2 separate regions of the Homo sapiens genome follow, and region 1 is linked to region 2. The links are contacts of gene promoters, found by promoter capture Hi-C in blood cells and fetal thymus (Javierre and others, 2016). All regions are on one chromosome and are shown on one strand. Each heading gives the region's core, a stretch centred on a gene start or on the middle of the fragment in contact. The rest is flanking DNA. Distances are from core to core; before and after follow the strand shown. Region 1 overlaps KDM3B (lysine demethylase 3B). Region 2 holds the start of CDC23 (cell division cycle 23).

The links. Contacts are between HindIII fragments. The CHiCAGO score rates a contact against its expected background, and 5 or more counts as called.
Region 1: a contact is called between a fragment that was not itself captured here and the fragment with the promoter of CDC23 in region 2, in 2 of 17 cell types (M2 macrophages and M1 macrophages). The highest score is 5.6, in M2 macrophages.

Annotation. Positions count from the first base shown.
Region 1 is chr5:138,422,325-138,425,108 of GRCh38, forward strand. It overlaps KDM3B (lysine demethylase 3B), which reads left to right. Exons shown (of 24, transcript NM_016604.4): 16 at 1,751-2,017. Among named protein-coding and RNA genes, the nearest start is that of REEP2, 15 kb to the right of the region's middle. The HindIII fragment of the contact is 621 bases long and covers 1,101-1,721 here.
Region 2 is chr5:138,211,916-138,214,621 of GRCh38, forward strand. It overlaps CDC23 (cell division cycle 23), which reads right to left and starts at 1,408. Exons shown (of 16, transcript NM_004661.4): 1 at 1,237-1,408; 2 at 1,076-1,148. The coding sequence starts at 1,397. RefSeq lists an enhancer at 1,425-1,719. The HindIII fragment of the contact is 10,377 bases long and covers 1-2,706 here.

The DNA of each region.
Region 1 (2,784 bases), core at 161-2,660, 210 kb after region 2:
TAAGGTACAATATCTAAAAGATAGAAAAGAGGCTGGGCACAGTGGCTCACACCTGTAATCCCAGCACTTTGGGAGGCTGAGGCGGACAGATCACTTGAGGTCAGGAGTTCGAGACTAACCTGACCAACGTAGCAAAATCCTGACTCTTTCTAAAAAACTACAAAAATTAGCCAGGCATGATGGCACATGCTTATAATCCCAGCTACTCGGGAGGTTGAGGCAGGAGAATCGCCTGAACCTGGGAGGCAGAAGTTGCAGTGAGCCAAGATCGCACCACCGCACTCCAGCCTGGGTGACAGAGGGAGATCCATCTCAAAAAAATAAATAAAATAAAAAAGGTTTCGACTGAAAAGTTTCCTTTGCACCCTTGCCTCCCAACCACCTGTTTCCCTTTCTAGAAGTCTCCAGTGTTTCTCGAGATATTATCATATGTATGTTTTTCCCCTAAATGTTCTACACCTTGCTATTCTGATTTTTAGTTTATATGTCCTGCAAATCATTTCAAGCGAATACATAAATACATTTCTTCTTGGGTTTTATGACTAATGGCTGAAACGTGATGAACTGTGGGTGACTGAGCCCTCTATACAATTTGGGTTATTTGTTTCTCTTTTGGATAAGTAACTTTTTTTTTTGAGACAGTCTCACTCTGTTGCCCAAGCTGGAGTGCAGTGGCACGATCTCAGCTCACTGCAGCCTCCACTTCCCAGGTTCAAGCAAATCTCCTGCCTTAGCCTCCCGAGCAAGTAGCTGGGACTACAGGCACGTGCCACCACACTGGGATAATTTTTGTATTTTTAGTAGAGACAGGGTTGGCCACCATGTTGGCCAGGCTGGTCTCGAACTCCTGACCTCAGGTAATCCACCTGCCTTGGCCTCCCAAAGTGCTGGGATTAACAGGCATGAGCCACCGTGCCCAGCCTGGATAAGTAAATTTTAAAAAGCAAACAAAACAATTACTTTGGGTACCGTTTTATGTATACTTGTTCATCATACTGCCAGTTCTTTTTCTAATTCTCCCATGATGTTACATAATTATACATACTTTATAGAGATAGGGATTAGTAATACTGTAAGCATAGGATTATCCAGTTTATAAAAGCTTCCCTACCTTCAGTTCTGTGACCTTAGGTATGTCACTTTCATCTCTGGGCCTGAGCTTTCCCATCAGCTGAAACAGGTGAGTGATTCTCAGTGGGATGGTAGTGAGGAAAAAATTGGAGAGTAGGAGACTGCTTTCAGAATGTACTTCCTCTTGGACACTCTGCTACACCCTTCATTGAGGTACTCCCTGGTAGAAAACCATTGCCTTGATAAGTCACTTCAGTTACTTAATTGAAGTATTGTATCCCTTGGGCATGCTGGTTAGGAAAAATTTAGAACCCTCAAACTGAGTGACCTTTTTACACTCAGTTACAGCATTTGATGATCCCTACAGTCTACATGCATGTGTGCTTTGTATACTGAATGGCTGATGCCAAAGGTATTTCTTAGGTCTCAGATCTCTCGAGGCAAAAGGGATCTTTCTATACTTTTCTTTCCTAAATGTTAAGGTAAAATATGAAGGATAAAAGAATTTAAGATGTTGACTTATTATCCCCCTTCCAGTTGTAAAAGACATTTTAATAATTTTTGTAGAATTTAATCAGACAGGTCAGAACTCCTTGTGAATACAATTGTGAGACAGTTTTTTGAATGCCGTTCTCATGGTGCCTCAGTCAAGCTTACCTGGTGGATTTGTGTCTGGCAGGGAGTGAAGAGCAAGGCCAGCCTACCCAACTTTCTTGACCACATCATTGCCTCAGTGGTAGAAAATAAGAAAACCTCAGATGCTTCAAAGCGGGCCTGCAACTTGACTGATACCCAGAAGGAAGTGAAGGAGATGGTGATGGGGTTAAATGTGCTAGATCCCCATACTTCTCACTCCTGGCTTTGTGATGGGAGGCTTCTGTGTCTCCATGACCCCAGCAACAAAAACAATTGGAAGATCTTCCGGGAGTGTTGGAAGCAAGGTCAGGTAAGCAAGAATAAGTCGTTCCAAGGGCCAATTCTCTGCCTGCCTACCACAGATACCTGGACAATTCCAGGTCTCTCTTTTTGCCAGGGAGATTTAGACATAGTGAGGTTATTGTAATAGCCTTGCTACTTCGAGTTGTCTTGGATTTTTAAAAGCAAGGAGATGGCCAGGCACTATAGCTCACGCCTGTAATCTCAGCACTTTGGGAGGCCAAGGCAGGCGCATCATCTGAGGTCAGGAGTTTGGCCAACATGGTGAAATCCTGTCTCTACTAAAAATACAAAAAAAATTAGCTGGGCATGGTGGTGGGTGCCTGTAATCCCAGCTGCTTGAGAGGGTGAGGCAGGAGAATCACTTTACCCGGGAAGCAGAGGGTGCGGTGAGCCAAGATCATACCACTACATTCCAGCCTGGGCTACAGAGCAAGATTCCACCTCAAAAATAAATAAATAATAAATAAATAAAAGCAAGGAGATTACTAAAAACACACTTTGCATCCTCTTGTTTCTAAGCTGTATAGTTCTGTGTTCTTAAAAAGGCAGTTGAAATTTCTGTTAGGTGGTGATCTGGCATTGATATCTTTAGAGAAAAATCCTTAAGTGTGATTTTAAGATGGGGCAGAGAAGGGGTTGGAGGTAGGTAGTACTTTTCTAGGCAAATGTTTTAAGGCCACACAAGTTTTTTGATAGTGTGATAACACTCCCTAGTTTAAAAACTTTAGCAGGTGCTTGAGGAAGGGGAGCTCATGGCATTGTCATTTTCAATAT
Region 2 (2,706 bases), core at 158-2,657:
GACTCAAAAAATTTACCTAAGAGTATACCGTATGCTTTACCCTTATTGCTTTATTTAATCTTCTTGAAAATGCAGCAATTATTAACATTATCTATAGATGAGAAGGCTGTCACTTAGAAATCATTTGCCCACATTGGTGCTGCTAATAAAGAACTTGACCGAAATATAGATGCAAGCACCAGGCACACTTCTAAGCGGTCTATATTATTATCTCATTGACTTCTCTCAATATCCCCATTGAGTAGATACTATTACTATCGTCACTGCACAGATGAGGAAACTGGCTCAGAAGGTTAAGTTGCCAAAGGTCATTTGAACCCAGAGTCGTCTCAATCCAGCACCCAAACTTAACCATTATTTGCTATGCTGATCAGACAACAGTGTAGGTATTGTAAAAACTTTATTTATTTATTATTTATTTTGAGACAGTGTCCCGCTCTGCCCTCGGGCTGGAGTGCAATGGCGCGATCTCAGCTCACTGCAACCTTCGCCTCCCGGGTTTAAGCGATTCTCCTGTCTCAGCCTCCCGAGTAACTGGGATTACAGGCGCGCGCCACCATGTCCGGCTAATTTTGTATTTTTACTAGAGACGGGGTTTCACCGTGTTGGCCAAGCTGGTCTCGAACTCCTAACCTCGTGATCCGCCCACCTCGGCCTCCTAAAGTGTTGGGATTACAGGCGTGAGCCACCGCGCCAGACCAAAACTTTTGATTCTTCTCATCCTTTTGGGTATTTATTATGAGATATCCTTATAATAATTCCTTATAATAATATTTACTATTATGAGGCACTCTTATGTCTAGGTTTGGCTATAAGCCCTAAAAGGCTGAAATCATAAGCAGTAATTGTTTACTAATTCTCCCCAGCTTTAAATAAGAGCACCACCAAGTCTTTCAAAGCTCAAGAAAACTAAATGGATAAAATCATTTAAAACACTCAGCTCTTTGAATGCCTGAATTCCCTCTACAAACATTTCTGCTAAGCAGTTTGCTCTCCTCCAGTGACAGGGCACTCAGTGGCTCTTGAGGCACACCCCTGGGTTGATGGGGAGCGCTCACTGTAAACATGTCCTTACCTCTGTAATAGGCGGAGGCGGTTGCAGCTCGGCCAGAGGCAATGCAGGGAGAGAGAAAGCCAACTCCGCCGACCTGGAACACCCACACAAACTAGATCAGCTCGACAAGCCCCCCAAGGCCAAGGATCCAAGCCCCGTCCCTTCCCACTCCAACATCTCACCATTTGCTACTGTGTAGTAGGCCCCGCTCCCGGGTAAGGCCCGCAATAAGCAGCAGTTGCTTTTTAATTTCCCGCAAATCTGAGAAATCGCTGTTTATGGACAGGACAGGCGCCACTGCCGCCGTCACAGCCACCGGGACCATGGAGGTACTCGCAGCCATTTTCCCGACTCGGGCCACTCCAGCCAATCATCGGCGATAATACTGGCTGCCCATCTGCACCAAAAATATCTGCCTGTCATTGGCCGGCTCTTGCTCCGGAAAAACCAATCATAGGTCTTATTTCTGAAACGTCACGAAGAGGCGGGGGAAAAGAAACAACTACATCCCCAAATGGCCAAGAGCTACTGAGGCGGGAAAATTAGAAAATAGGCGGGGCGAGGGAGAAGCCACGACCTCTGGGCGGGGCGGGGAAGAGGGGAATGAGTGACTGGGAAAAGTAAACTGGGAAGCTAGGGGTGGGAGTAGGGGCAAGAAAGGGTGGAGAAGGGAGAGTGCCTTTCACGGGTGATGTGATTGGATGAAAAATAGAAAGGGTGTAGTTTCAGGGCCGACTCTGTACCAGATAATGACAAAGTGATGTATATGCTAGGAAAGATGCATGGTAGCCTCTGGATTCTTCCTTAAAATAGGAGGATGTATCGCCCCATGTGGAGGATTTTTCCTCTTTGTCTACCCTTTCTTACCCCGGGTAGCCCGGGGAGGTGGGGGTGAGAGCATTGTTCTGTAACATTTATTTAACAATAATTGTTAACATTTCACATTTATTGAGGGTTTATCCTACAACAGGTTCTGCTCTTTTACAACTATAATCTGGTTTAATCCTAAAAACAGCACTATGATATTCGTATCATCCCAATTTTATAGAAAGAAAAACGGAAGCTCGGCCAGGCGCGGTGGCTCAAGCCTGTAATCCAACACTGTGGGAGGCCGAGGCGGGCGGATCACGAGGTCAGGAGATCGAGACCATCCTGGCCAACACGGTGAAACCCCGTCTCTACTAAAAATACATAAAAATTAGCCGGGCGTGGTGGCACGTGTCTGTAGTCCCAGCTACTCGGCAGGCTGAGGCAGGAGAATCGCTTGAACCTGGGAGGCGGAGGTTGCAATGAGCCGAGATCGTGCCATTGCACTCCAGCCTGGGCGACAGAGCGAGACTCCGTCAAAAAAAAAAAAAAAAAAAAACAAAACCAGAAAAGAAAAAAAAGAAAAAACGGAAGCTCAGAGAAGTTCTATCACTCTTCCAAGGAGAGAGTCTAGACTATAAACCAGATTTTACTCCAAAGCCCAATGTTCTTAAACATTACATGAACATTTTCGGCGTTTTTTGGTTTTTATCCTTTCATAGTAGTATACTATCTTACCAACCCCTCGGGAATTTTTTTTGAAACCATTTTGTCATTCACTGGGTGTTATATAGAAGTTATCTATTTTTAAATTGTTATTTTATTATTTTATTTATTTTAAGAAA